Regions from separate parts of the Homo sapiens genome. Here all the other regions are linked to region 1. Evidence: promoter capture Hi-C in human tissues and cell types (Jung and others, 2019). All regions are on one chromosome and are shown on one strand. The core of a region is centred on a gene start or on the middle of the fragment in contact, and the rest is flanking DNA. Distances in the headings are between cores, read along the strand shown. Region 1 holds the start of RPL5 (ribosomal protein L5). Region 2 has its middle 68 kb from the start of GFI1. Region 3 overlaps EVI5 (ecotropic viral integration site 5).

Evidence for each region. Contacts are between HindIII fragments. The study calls those that stand out against the background at their distance.
Region 2: a contact is called between a fragment that was not itself captured here and the fragment with the promoter of RPL5 in region 1, in 1 of the 25 tissues and cell types used here (liver).
Region 3: a fragment that was not itself captured here is called in contact with the fragment with the promoter of RPL5 in region 1 in 1 of the 25 tissues and cell types used here (mesenchymal stem cells).

Annotation. Positions count from the first base shown.
Region 1 is chr1:92,828,433-92,833,289 of GRCh38, forward strand. It overlaps RPL5 (ribosomal protein L5), which reads left to right and starts at 3,608. Exons shown (of 8, transcript NM_000969.5): 1 at 3,608-3,685. The coding sequence starts at 3,683. It also overlaps a transcript of DIPK1A not described here. RefSeq lists enhancers at 3,357-3,406, 3,410-4,048, 3,577-3,896, 4,049-4,686. The HindIII fragment of the contact is 19,619 bases long and covers 1-4,857 here.
Region 2 is chr1:92,416,830-92,421,686 of GRCh38, forward strand. No RefSeq gene overlaps it. Among named protein-coding and RNA genes, the nearest start is that of GFI1, 68 kb to the right of the region's middle. The HindIII fragment of the contact is 4,876 bases long and covers 1-4,696 here.
Region 3 is chr1:92,523,660-92,528,516 of GRCh38, forward strand. The region is part of intron 19 of EVI5 (ecotropic viral integration site 5); the gene reads right to left. Among named protein-coding and RNA genes, the nearest start is that of GFI1, 39 kb to the left of the region's middle. The HindIII fragment of the contact is 4,390 bases long and covers 536-4,857 here.

The sequences.
Region 1 (4,857 bases), core at 2,358-4,857:
GGCTCATTGCAACCTCCACCCACAACATTCAACAGATTCTCCTGCCTCAGCCTCCCGAGTAGCTGGGACTACAGGTGCCCACGACCACGCTCAGCTAATTTTTGTATTTTTAGTTGAGATGGGGTTTCACCATATTGGCCAGGCTGGTCTCGAACTCCTGACCTTGTGATCTGCCCGCGTGGGCCTCCCAAAGTGCTGGGATTACAGGCGTGAGCCACTGTGCCCAGCCAAATCTGAGTTCACTTTCATTTCAAATAATAAAAGCTATATTCTAGAAGGAATAATAAATAACAAATAGCTCCCATTCTAGCGCAGGTTTTTTGTTTTTTGGTTTTACAAGACAGGGTCTTACTGTATCACCCAGGCTGGAGTGCAGTGGCAAGATCATGACCCGCTGTAATCTCTGCCTCCTGGGCTCATGTGATCCTGCCGCTTCAGCCTCCCGAGTAGCTGGGACCACAGGCACGTACCACCACGCCCAGCTACAATTTTTATTTTTTGTAGAGATGAGGAGTTGTCATGTTGCCCAGGCTGGTCTCAAACTCCTGACTTCAAGTGATCCACCTGCTTAGGCTTCCCAAAGTCCTGGGATTACAGGGGTGAGCCATGACACCCAGCCAATGTTTTGTTTTTTATTTTGAAATAATTTCAAAACCACTGCTTGGGTTAAGAACCGTACAAAGAATTTCCATATACTCTTCTCCCAAGTTCCCCACTGTCACCATTTTAACACATTTTTGCCTTATTAATCTCTCTCTTTACATGCACATATATGTGTATGTATATACACACATGTAATTTTCTTCCTAAGCCATTTACTGGGACCAAGTTGCAGAAATAATGCCCACTACTCCAAAATAGTTCAGTGTGTATTACCTTAAAAAAAAAAAAGAACTCTCATTCATAACCAGTCTACCTATGAAAATCAGAATTTAGCCAGGCTTGGTGGCTCACACCTGTAATCCCAGCACTTTGGGAGGCCAAGGTGGGGGGTGGATCATCTGAGGTCAGGAGTTCGAGACCAGCCTGATCAATATGGAGAAACCCCGTCTCTACTAAAAATACAAAATTAGCCGGGCATAGTGGCACATGCCTGTAATCCTAGCTACTCGGGAGGCTGAGGCAGGAGAATCGCTTGAACCCAGGAGGCAGAGGTTGTGGTGAGCCGAGATTGCGCCATTGCACTCCAGCCTCAGCAACAAGAGCGAAACTCCATCTCAAAAAAAAATCAGAATTTAACATTGATTCATTACTATCACCTAATCCAGACTTCAGTAAAGTTTCACCGATTGTTCTGACAATGTCCTTTGAACAAAAGAAATACAAAGACTTCTTATTTCCCTTTTTCCTTTCTTGTCCAGGATGCAATATGGAATCACACATTGCATACAGTTGTCATGTCACTTTGGTCTCTTTCAGTCTGGAATATTGTTTAGGCTTTCCTTATCTTTCATGATCTTGTCATTTTTGAAGAGTACAGGCCAGTTACTTTGTAGAATTATCTAAATCTGGATTTACGTGTAGTTTCATCATGATTAGATTTGGTTGGTACATATTAGATAACTATTTTAGATTAGATTATGTAAATTTGGTAGGAAGTGTTTTGTGTTCTTCTCAGTGCATCAGGAGGCATATAATGTTAATTTATTTTTTCTTTGCTTTCCTTTTTCTTTTTCCCTAGAGATAGAGGTCTTCTTATGTGCCCAGGCTGGTCTCGAACTCCTGGGCTGAAGTGATCCTCCTGGCTCAGCCTCCCAAAATGTTGGGATTACAGGTGTGAACCTATAATGTTAATTCATCCCACTATTGGTGGTTTTTTAACTTTTACCACTTGAATAAGATGCTGTTGGCTGAGGATGCTGGACAATTACCCCCTAGCTCCTGGTGTCACCAACTGCACTGGCTGAACCAGCCATGCTAGCCACAGACCCCTGACTGTGACCAAGGGGAATAGGTATACATATTTTTAATTTTCTTGTTATGGATTTATAAGGTAAGAAGGAGAGGGATAAGGATGATAAAGTATATTTAATTTAACATGTTGTTTGTTTCATAACTTCTTTTTTTGGATTTTATTTTTTATAGAGACAGGGGCTCACCAAGTCTCCCAGGCTGGTCCCGAACTCCTGGGTTTAAGTGATCCTCCTGCCTTGGCCTCCCAAAATGCTGGGATTACAGGCCTGAGCCAGCACATCCAGCCTGCTTCATGACTTCTTTCTTTTTTTTTTTTTTTGAGACGGAGTCTCACTGTCGCCAGGCTGGAGTGCAGTGGTGTGATCTCGGCTCACTGCAACCTCTGCCTCCTGGGTTCAAGCGATTCTCCTGTCTCAGTCTCCCGAGTAGCTGGGACTACAGGTGCGTGCCACCATGCCCGGCTGGTTTTTGTATTTTTAGCAGAGATGGGGTTTCACCATGTTGTCCAGGATGGTCTCGATCTCTTGACCTCGCGATCCGCCTGCCTCGGCCTCCCAAAGCGCTGGGATTACAGGCGTGACCCACCGCACCTGGCCTGAGCTACCGTGCCCGGCCCACAACTTCTAAATATTCAGATGAATAGTATGTGGGTCTTCCTATGAACCCTTGCCCTAAAACATGCAGAAGTTAGGAGTCGGCCTGTTTCCAGGCAGACTTTCCTTCCTGATGCTTTTGCCTCCAGTGTAAGCAGGGCCTGACCAAGACATGGAGCACCTTTGGTAGGCTAATAACTTGATAATCCACCAAAATGAAGGTTTTTAAATATTTTCTATAAATACGAATTGAATACCTCTTTCTTTACCCTTTCAAAGGTGGCTCCACAAAAGTAGAATCACACTTCCTGTGAAAAGTGTTTTAAGTTTTCTCCTCTAGAGCTCTGTTGACATCGGCCATAGCGAACTCTGTTTATTTTTCCTATTATATAAGGAATTACAAGTTGGAATCAGAAGTAATTGGCATCCTAATCCTGATTTATTCTAGTGGCAGTGTTTTGGAGTCACTTAACCCTGTCATCCTGGTTGGCCGTCCCTTCTCCCAGCTCTAACGGTGAGCAGCTGATACCCTGCTAGGTGCTGGAGAGTCAGAGGTGGACATCAGGGCCCACCTCGAAAAGTTGACAGTCTGTGGTGGGCTGAAGCCAGTAGAAAGCTGCTGTAGGAAGGCAGAGGAGTGGCCCCTATCCCAGGCTTGGGGCTCTCAGGGAAGGCTTCCTGGGGGTGAGATGGGAGGGTGGGTCCATATGCTCTTGGACCAGAATGAGTAGCCCAGAGAAGGCAAGAGGGCTCCCAAGCAAACTTGTCCTATTTAATTTTTTTTTTTTTTCCTGCTTAGAAAAGCAAAATGCGTTATGAACAAAACAAAACAAAACAAAACAAAACAAAACAAAACAAAACAAAACAAAACGCTGTAGCAAAGAAAGCGAAAGGCTCCAGTAATCCTCCCTGCTCCTCCTCACCGCACGGATCCTGTGAGATACCCCGAGCATTGGAACCTGGAGAGCTTGGGCAGGCATTCACCCTCCTTCCAGCAGGGGGCGGAACGTAAAACGCCTTGTGGCCGACGCCCTCTCTCTTTCACACGTCACTGGCGTGACCGTCCGCGCTACATACTGCGCCTGCGCAAGGGCTGTGGCCCTTTTCCCACCCCCTAGCGCCGCTGGGCCTGCAGGTCTCTGTCGAGCAGCGGACGCCGGTCTCTGTTCCGCAGGATGGTGAGTGGATGCCTCGGTCTCGGGGCTTTAGATGCATGGAGGTTCCCTTTTCTTGCCCGTATGCCAGCCTAGGGCCCGTCTCGCGCGTCGCAGGGGCCGGATGGCGTTAGATTGCTAGCTCTGACTTGGTCGAGGTGCAGTTCCCAGCGTGGCCTTAAATGGCTGCCGCCCGGTGCGCGAACTTGGGGGGAGGGGTTGGCGAAGAAGGGTTGCGTGAGCTTGGACGGCGGATTGGGGAGAAGGGTGAGTTTAGTAGACAGCCTGAGTGCGGATACTGCCGTCTAGTGTGAGGGGGCGCTGGCAAGCGGCCGGGCGTGAGAGGTCGCAAGCAGTCGACCTCAGCCTAGCTGGGGAACGCCAGAATGGAGGGGGGCTGCAGGTCCTCGGGTCCCACTCGACCTCCGAGTACCGAGTACTTCGTGGGTTTTCCAGGAGAATGTCGGAGCCGGCAAGTCTTAGATTTAGGAAGCTTGTGCCCGTGGGCTGAGCAAGTGGCTTTTAAGCCAAAATTGTCAGTGGAGCTTGGAGGCCGAGGGGTCCCTGGGCCCCGGAAGCTCCTTTAACATGGAATACGTGCCTCCTGCCTCTTCCTCTAGAGTCCGTCGCCGGATGAGTTTTTAATTATTGGGGTAGGGCCCCAAGGGTGGGATGAAATGTTGCTTTAGCTGATGGGGAACAGTGCTGTTTTAGTGGGGGAATTACTGCTGAATGTGCTCTTGCCCAGTTAAGCTTTGTGGCAGGTAATTTAGGCTTTTGAAAAACATAACATGGGAAGCGAGAGAGGTACGTAGTTGTTATTTGAGGCTAGGTTTTCGAAGTGGGACATAGCGTGTTCCGAACAAACCGACGTTTGGCATCACTGATTGCTGTCTGGAGCAGTGCTTCGCAAAAGTTTGGCACAATTACCGGTGCTGGTCCTTGAAGAAACAAATATGGAAATTGAAAGCGTTTAAAACCTTTTGAAAGCAATATAACAATAATTTTATACCTGTTAAATGTAATAAATTGGGGCCTGCATTTTGTATGTTTCTTTTATTCCATATTTCTCTAAGGATTCATTTTTATTGTTTTATGAAACTACTAGTCTGTGACATGGAAGGTAGAGGAAAAAGATTCTTGACCCTAGTTGCTTGTGAAACCTGGGATTCTACAAGTGACAGTTGTCTGTTTAC
Region 2 (4,857 bases), core at 1,009-3,508, 410 kb before region 1:
CTGTTAAATTCTGGATTGCCCATAGCCAGTCCAAATATCTACATCCTATCTCAGTCAGTCTCATAGAAAAGAAGATGACTCTTTGGGTAACTAACTCTCAAAATCTGTAGTTTTTCCTTATTTCAGTAGTTGTGAGTATACCTCTGTCCCTGAACTGATCACAGTGATAGGCAGAATGGGATATGTTGATTGGCTTAAACAATCAGACCCCTGCCTGGAGCTTGGGGAGAAGAGTCAGTCGTACCAATGAGGGGGTAGAGTGAATTTCCCAAATGGGAATCCAAGAACTGCCTGCAAGAGAAGAAGGAAAATAAGTCTGGGCGAGGTGGTTCATGCCTGTAATCCCAGCACTTTGGGAGGCCGAGGCAGGCAGATCGCCTGAGGTCAGGAGTTCGAGACCAGCCTGGCCAACATGGTGAAACCCTGTCTCTACTAAAAATACAAAAATTAGCTGGGCACAGTGGCAGTCGCCTGTAATCTCAGCTACTCGGGACGCTGAGGCAGGAGAATCGCTTGAACCTGGGAGGCGGAGGTTGCGGTGAGCCAAGATCACGCCATTGCACTCCAGCCTGGGTGACAAGAGTGAAACTCCATCTCAAAAAAAAAAAGAGAGAGAGAGAGAGACGGAAGAAGGGAAATAGAAGTAGGGAGCTAACTAGCAAATGCCCCCTACACATGGGTGTGAAGTACCCAGAACTGGAGAGCCAGGTCACAGTCAAGCTGAGACCTGAAAGTGAGAAAGGAGTTAACAGGAAAAGAGGGATAGAAGACATTCTGGGCAGAGGGAACAAAGGTACAAAGCTTGGAGGTAAGAGATAATATAATGCATGCAAGAACTGCTAGGATTTCAGTATGCCTAGTGCACAGAGTGATAAGAGATGACAAGAGAACGTGCTGAATGGGTGAGCAGAGAGCAGACAAGGATTGTGAGCTCTTTGGTGATGGGATGGAATTTATATCTCCTAGGCAGTTTAGCACAAGCTTCAGATAAACAGACCTGGGATCGAGTTCAAATCCCAACACTGTCCCTCAATGATTTTGGACAACCTCTCTGAGCTTCAGTTTTTTTAATGTCTAATTTTATAATCTATAAAATACAGCTATTAATAGCTCTTTTTCAGAGTTGTTGAAGGGTTATACAACAGGGTATATGTATGGTCTCTGACATATAGATAGTCTGGATAAAAAGTAACTGTTATTATTACTATCAGTGCTTCTCTCAGGCCTGGCATCCCTGCCCTCAAAAACCAAACAATACCTAAGTAGTATCAGTAAACATCTGTGGATTGAAGGGCTGGCATCCCCTGTGAGTCAGCCTTGCCCCTGTACATAGCTCCATACTCCAGCAACTCCTTAGCCCCTGACCCCAGTCCTGCAGTGTCCTCCTCAATTTCACGGTGCTCACAACTGCCAAGAAATACCCAAAGCACAGGTATCAAAAGACTGGGACCCCAGGCTGTTGGGCCTGCAGAGATGACGGACTCTGCCCCACATGTGTACTCTGGCTGGCAGGTCCTGAAAAGACACAGCAACCAGGGCTTGGGAGAGACCAAGAGACCAAGGAGGACACAGCTGCCTGAAGATTAGGGAAAGCTTGGCTGAGTGAGACATCCCAAAGGTGATTTTTGTTGGCCTCCTCCAGAACCTAGGAGACTAACTCTTAGTGGTATATATTCCGGGATCTTAGCACCCCTTTCAGGGCATTTGGAAGTGTAAAGGATCACCATGTCTGAAGATCTGGATGTCAAATCTGTCACTGTCTATCTCCCCAGAGGCTGAAGGCCTTTAGGTGTCTATTCAGAAGCTGCTGGACACAGACCTTTTTCAGGCATCCCTAAAGGGTCTAGAGAATTGGTAGGTGTTGACCACATTATACCTGCCTGATCATCAGTGTGCACAGTGCATAAAAACTTGTACATGGAGGCCAGGTGCGGTGGCTCACACCTGTAATCCCAGCACTTTGGGAGGCCAAGCAGGGCGGATCACTTGAGGTCAGGAGTTCAAGACCAGCGTGGCCAACATGGTGAAACCTCATCTCTACTAAAAATGCAAAAATTAGCTGGGTGTGGTGGTGCATACCTGTAATCTCAGCTACTCGGGAGGCTGAGGCAGGAGATTCACTTGAATCCGGGAGCTGGAGGTTTCAGTGAGCCAAGATCGTGCCACCACTCCAGCCTGGGCAACAGAGACTGTGTCTCAAAAAAAAAAAAAAAAAAAAAGAACTTGTACGTGGAACTCTCACAGAAATAGGCTTGAACCTCAGCTCTGCTATTCCATATTTGACTTTGGGCAAGGTACTTTACATCCTCATCTTCAGTTTTCTCATCTGTAAACTGGGGATGGCAATGCCGAGAATTAAATAAGAAAAAATACGCATAGTGCAGCCAAAAGCGGTGGCTCATGCCTATAATCCTAGCACTTTGGAAGGCCAAGGCAGGTGGATCACTTGAGGTCAGGAGTTCAAGACCAGCGTGGCCAACATGGTGAAACCCCGTCTCTACTAAAAATACAAAAATTAGCCAGACATGGTGGCATGTGTCTGTAATCCCAATTACTTGGGAGGCTAAGGCAGAAGAATAACTTGAACCCAGGAAGCGGAGGTTTCAGTGAGCCGAGATCACGGGCCACTGCGCTCCAGCCCACGCAACAGAGCGAGATTCCATCTCAAAAAGAAAATATATGTGTGTGTGTGTGTGTGTGTGTATACACATACATATATGTGCAAAGTGCTAAATATGAACATCCTTCATAAATATTAGTTCCTTTCCTTCCTTTGTTGCTATCAGGCTTTTTTCCTTACTCTTGGGTTCTTTCTCCTATTCTTTGGCACCCATCCATCTTGTCTCCTATTCTTGCTGTGTACTGACTGTCAGGAAGCTTCATAGTGCTGTCCTCTTGGATTAACTTCCTCCCAACCCACGGCACTGGCACTTCAGAAGACTTGGCAGTAAAAAGAGCCATAATCATTCAGTCATGCAAATTGAGCACTCTATGCTAGGTCTTACGCTAAGCGAAGGAAATACCAAGGAGAATAAGGCAGTCTGTTCCTCATGAAGCTCCACCCCAGTGAGAGACACCAGCACAAAAGAGCTCATAATAACGCTGTGTAAAAATGCAGTGACTTTGGCAAAGAAGGGCCTACCTGCTGGGTGTGGGAGCCTCTAGGAGGAAGCAACACACAAGATGAGTCTTAAAGGATGAGTAGATACTGCCTAGAGGAGGGAAGGCGAGGGGAAGCATAAGCAAAATCAAGGAGGAGACCTAGAGCCTGGCATGTGCAAAGAAACATGGGCAGTTCTGCATTGCTGGAAAATAAAGTGGCACATAGCCTACAGTAGATGGCCAATTAATATTTGTTTGGGTAAGCATAGAAAGAGACTGATGGACAATACAGCAAACTGTTCAATACTATGAAGTTGAGAACAGGAGGCAAGGGAATCCTTCAGTTTTCACATTATACACTACCATGTTGTTTGAAATTGTTACAAGCATGTATCAATTTTATAATTTAAAAATACACTTTTGGCCTGGTGCAGTGGCTCATGCCCATAATCCCAGCACTTTGGGAGGCCGAGGCAGGTGGATCACCTGAGGTCAGGAGTCCAAGACCAGCCTGGCCAACATGGTGAAAACCCGTCTCTACTTAAAATACAAAAGATAGCCAGGAGTAGTGACAGGCACCTGTAATCCCGCTGCTCGGAAGGCTGAGGCAGGAGAATTGCTTGAACCCAGGAGGCAGAGGTTGCAGTGAGCTGAGATTGCATGATTGCACTCCAGCCTGGGTGACAGAGTGAGACTCCACCTCAAAAAAAAAACAACAAAAAACACTTTTTTGAAAATAATAAAAAGTTAATTTTGGCTGCAATGTGTAGAACAAGTTGGAGTTGGGGTAAGCCTGAGGCAGGGCGACCCAGTTATAAGGCTACTGCAGATGATGAAGGAGTCTTTTTTTTTTGTTGTATTTTTAGTAGAGATGGGGTTTCAACATGTTGGCCAGGCTGGTCTCAAACTCCTGACCTTGTGTTCCACCCTCCTCAGTCTCCCAAAGTGCTAGGATTACAGGCGTGAGCCACCGCACCTGGCTGATGAAGGAGTCTTAAACCAGAGAAGTAGCTATGGGGGTCGGGAGAAGGAAAAGTCTAGAGCTTCAAGATTGTACAGCTGTGTGGGTGGTGGTACCTTTACTGAGACAGAGACCATGAGGGAAAACAGGTCTGGGTTAGGAGGGGAGGAGAGGTAGAGACAATGAGAGTAGTTTTGTCCATGTAGGAGCTGTGGTGTTCATGGGATACCCAGCTGGTAACTTGACTATATGAGTCTGATGTTTCAAAAGAGACAAGAAGTGCCGGGCACGGTGGCTCATTCCTGTAATCCCAGCACTTTGGGAGGCCGAGGTGGGTGGATCACAAGGTCAGGAGATGGAGACCATCCTGGCTAACATGGTGAAACCCCGTCTCTACTAAAAATACAAAATTAGCTGGGCACGGTGGCGCATGCCTGTAATCCCAGCTACTCGAAAGGCTGAGACAGGAGGTTGCTTGAACCCGGGAGATGGAGGTTGCGGTGAGCCGAGATCATGCCATTGCACTCCAGCCTGGGTGACAGAGCAAGATTCCGTCTAAAAAAAAAAAAAAAAAAAGCTAGGTGTGGTGACACACGCTCGTAGTCCCAGCTACTAAGGAGGCTGAGGTGGGAGAATCGCTTGAATCAGGGAAGCTGAGGTTGCAGTGCCAGGGCACTCCAGCCTGGGCGACAGAGCCAGACTCTGTCTCAAAAAAAAAAAAAAAAAAAAAAAGACAAGAAGAAAATGTAAATTTGAGACATACCAGCATGTAAATCATTAAAACCAAGAGGATA
Region 3 (4,857 bases), core at 1,481-3,980, 310 kb before region 1:
GAGAGACATTCTCACTGGCTATTCAACTCAGCGAGCTGCTCTGGAGTCCTTACTTCTGTGAGAATATTAGAGATGTTAAGAGTACCCTTCTGACTTGCTAATTCTCTACACCAGTAATTTGGTATGTATAATTACTGCTTGGGTGACTGGACATGGTGACTTACGCTTGTAATCCCAGCACTTTGGGAGGCCGAGGCTGGTGGATCACTTGAGGTCAGAAGTTCGAGACCAGCCTGGCCAACATGGTGAAACCCTGACTCTACTAAAAATATAAAAATTAGCTGGGTGTAGTGGTGCATGCCTGTAGTCCCAGCTTAGTCCCAGCTACTTGGGAGGCTGAGGCAGCAGGATTGCTTGAACTTGGGAGGTGGAGGTTGCAGTGAGCCGAGATAGCGCCACTGCACTCCAGCCTGGGTGACAGAGCAAGACTCCATCTAAAAAAAAATAAAAGAAAAAAAAAAAAGAAACTGCCTGGGTTTATTATTTAAAAAAAAAAAAAAAAGATTCTTGAGCCCTACTCTTGAACATATGAATTCAGCAGGACAGGCCCAGGAGTTTGTATTTTAAACAAGTACTCCAGGTGATTCTGAAGACGGTGGTCCATACACTGCTCTAAAGGAACTGGATTTGGGAATTGACTATATTAGACCATGTTAAGAAAATCTGATAAGGGTAAATAAATTTAGATGTAAAGATTCCTTGTTAATTTATCACTTCCATTTTCACACTGTCCACTGTCATATTTTTAAAATACTCTGGCCTAAATGTGGCCACACAACCAACCAGAGCAGGGAAAAATCAAAATGAAAATAAACATGAGGCTAGTAAATATTACCTTTAAGATATGACCTATTCTTTGGGGTTTACAGACACCTTCACCATCTAGTTTCAAGTCTAGGCCCATTAAGGTGTTTTGTGGGATTCATCACTGAAGCGCACCACCCAATTTTAGACATCTCAACAATCACAGTCTACACTTGAGAGAACATGTGTGTTTGGGTGAAACAGCATCAGAACCTTTTCTTTTCTTCTTCCTACTAAGTGTCAATCTTCAAGTTTTATTCCAAGGATCAGCTTCATATCCAGGTGACAAGCCATATTCTTTAAGGAATAACATGTCTACCCTTAGGAATATAGTCTTAGTTTACAGACACTGATAGATTAACTACTTTTTTTTTTTTTTTTTTAGACAAAGTCTCACTGTGTTCCAGGCTGGAGTGCAGTGGCGTGATCTCAGTTTACTGTAAGCTCTCTGCCTCCCAGACTCAAGCAATTCTCCTGCCTCAGCCTCCTCAGTAGCTGGGATTATAGGTGCCCACCACCACACCCAGCTAATTTTTGTATTTTTGGTAGAGACAGGGTTTCACCATGTAGGCCAGGCTGCTCTCGAACTCCTGATCTCAAGTGATCTGCCCGCCTTGGTCTCCCAAAGTGCTGGGATTACACGCAGGAATCACTGGCGCCCAGCCAGATTAAGTATTTTTTAATACAACTCAACAGCCATAGGAGAGACACATACATCGGGGTGTGCGTGTGTGGTAGGTTGCAAGGGACATTTTGTTATAATAAGATATGAGTCAGTTCAGAATCAGTGCCAATGACAATGCCTTTTTTTTTTTTTTTTTTTTGAGACAGAGTCTCAATCTGTTGCCCAGGCTGGAGTGCAGTGGCACAATCTTGGCTGACTCCAACCTCTGCCTCCTGGGTTCAGGCAATTCTCCTGCTCAGCCTCCCGAGTAGCTGGGATTACAGGCCTACGTCACCATACTTGGCTAATTTTTGTATTTTTAGTAAAGATGGGGTTTTGCCATATTGGCTAGGCTGGCCTTGAACTTCTGGACTCAAGTGATTCACCTGTCTTGGCCTCCCAAAGTGCTGGGATTACAGGGGTGAGCCACTGCACCCGGCCAACAATGCTATTTTGATAAAATCCCACTAATGTATCTTGATGTTTGTTGACTAGGTTAGTAATTTTAGGTTGACTTTTGGAATATTCTTATAATAATTTGTTTGAAATTTGTGGAATAAAAATGATTAGGTACCACTGCCAACATTTTAAAAAACATTCTTCATGATTAGCTCATCGGACGCTGGTACTATTATTATACCATCAGTTTACTGCTTCTTTCGGACCCAGGCTCTCATTAGAACAGTAGGAAAGTTTTGCTGTAATTATGTTCCCATTTTATTTATTTTTACTTTTTTCTTAGACCAGATATCCATACCAACCCAGTTTTAGATAGGTCTCAGAAGATTATCTCTATGGAAACCCAGGAGCTTTAATATAAACGTATACACACACAAACATACAAATGAAATATATGTTTCTTAAGGGCAGGCCCTTTCCAAGACTTTGAGTAGGGTTCTGGCTTCTAGAACAATGGAATCTGTACCTATTATTGTTTTTGTTTTTTTTTGAGATGGGGTCTCCCTGTGTCATCCAGGTTGGAGTGCAGTGGCACTATCACAGCTCACTGCAGCCTCCACCTCCCTGGCTCAAGTGAGCCTTCTGCCTCAGCCTTCTGAGCAGCTGAGATCACAGACATGTGCCACCACGCCCAGCTAATTTTTAAATTATTTGTAGAGATGAGGTCTTGATATGTTGCCCAGGCTGGTCTTGAACTCCTGGGCTCAGGTGATCCTTCCACCTCAGCCTCCCAAAGTGTAGGGATTACAGGCATAAGCCGCCGTGCCCAGCCACCAATTATTCTTTCTAGCTAGAAATTATCACATGGTGTCACATCTGAAAAGCCTAATTAGATACAGAAAGCATGTGCTTAAAATATGGAGGCAAGAGAGCATGGTAGGTCTGAAGAGCTGTTAAGCAGTTTAATGAAGAGCTGTTAAGCAGTTTAATATTAGTGTATGAGGGTGTTTGGGTTAGGGGGAGTGACATGGAGGAACCTTAAATGCATATTGCAAAGCAAAAGAAGCTTATCTGAAAAAGGCCAGATAGTGTATGATTATGACTACATGACATTCTGGAAAAGGAAAAATTATGGAGACAGTAAGCAGTGGTTGCAGGAGTTCAGGAAGGAGAAGAGGGATGAACAGGTGGAACACAGGGGATTGTTAGGCAGTGCAACCATTTTGTATTCTACTGTAATGGTGGATACATGTCATTATACACTTGTCAAAACATATAGAATGTACAACACAAAGAATGAACCCTAATGTAAACTATGGACTTCAGTTAATAATAATGTGTCAATGTTGGCTCATCAATTGTAACTTATGTATTAAGCTACTGCAGGATGTCAATTACAGGAGAAAGGCAGAAGGTGTTGAAGGGGCATACGGTAACTCTCTTAATTTTCCACTTAATTTTTAATTATTCTGTAACTCTGACTGTCCCCCAAGATGAAGTCTACTGATTAAGATGTTCAGTGTTTTTTTCCTATGGCCATAACGCTCTAATAGCAAAACCGCTTGAGAAAAGTTTGAGGCTATGTGTGTTTCAAGAATGTATTTAGGGCCAGGTGCGGTGGCTCATGCTTGTAATCCCAGCAGTTTGGGAGGTGGAGGCAGGTGGATCACTTGAAGTCAGGAGTTCAAGACCAGCCTGGCCAAAGTGGTGAAATGCTGTCTTTACTAAAAACACAAAAATCAGCCAGGCAAGGTGGCACACGCCTGTACTCCTAGCTACTTGGTAGGCTGAGGTAGGAGACTCGGTTGAACCTGGGAGGTGGAGGTTGCAATGTGCTGAGATGGTGCCACTGCACTCCAGCCTGGGTGAAAGAGTGAGACACTGTCTCAAAAAAAAAAAAAAAAAAAGAAAAAAAGAAATAAAAGAAAAGAAAAAAAAAGTATGTATTTAGGCTCATTTTTAAGTGAAATATAACACAGCAAAATGTACAGATTTTATGTGTACAAGTTGGTAAAATTTTACTTACATACATAGTCATGAAATTATCACCCAGATTGAGCCATAGTGCATTTCCCACTCCCCAGAAGACTTCCATGTGTCTTCCTCCAGAAACTGCCCTACACTCGTCCAAAGGTAACCACCATTCTGATATCTACCATCACACAATAGTTTTGTCTATTCTTGTATTTAATATAAAGGATTATATGGTATGCATTTGTTTCTGTATCCTGTTACTCAGCATTGTCTGTGAGATTCACCAATGTTGGCATATAGCATGGTAGCTTATGCTTTTCCGGTGTGGCATAGTATTGCATTTGTGATTACATCATAATTTATCCTTTCTAATGTTAATGGCCATTTGGGTTGTCTCCAATCTATTATATATAATGCTGCTATGAGCATTCTTAAACATGTCTTTTGGTCAGTATATGTACTCATTTCTCTAGAGTGTAACTTCTGCGTAATAAAGAAGATTTAGTAAATACTGCCAAACCATTTTCCACAGAGTTTGTAATAGGCTCCTTACTTTTTGCAAGAGAACTTTTACCTTACCTTCTGCCTAGTTAACTGTCAAAGCCAATTAATGGTCCCTTAACTGACCACACTGAATAACTTAATTCTGTGTTCTTAATAGAAAATACAACACTGAATTTTCAGCTATCCAATCACGTTAGTGAAGATACGGAATAGGAAGTCTTGCACATTGCTGGTGGGAGTGTAAACTGGTATAAGCACTTTGGAAAATGGCTTCGCAGTATCGACTAAAGTTGAATGTCTACACACTTTATACCTAGAATAACTATACACTTCAGTGTGCTTGGGACAGTCCTGGCTTATGCCTGTTGTTACACAGTAATTTTTAATTATTTTCATTCTCAAAAGTGTCCTGGCTTGAACAATTATAGTAGTCACCCAGCAATTCCATTCCTAGGCATATGAAAAATAGAAGTAAATACATTACACCAAAAATTTTATAACAGGGCTCATAA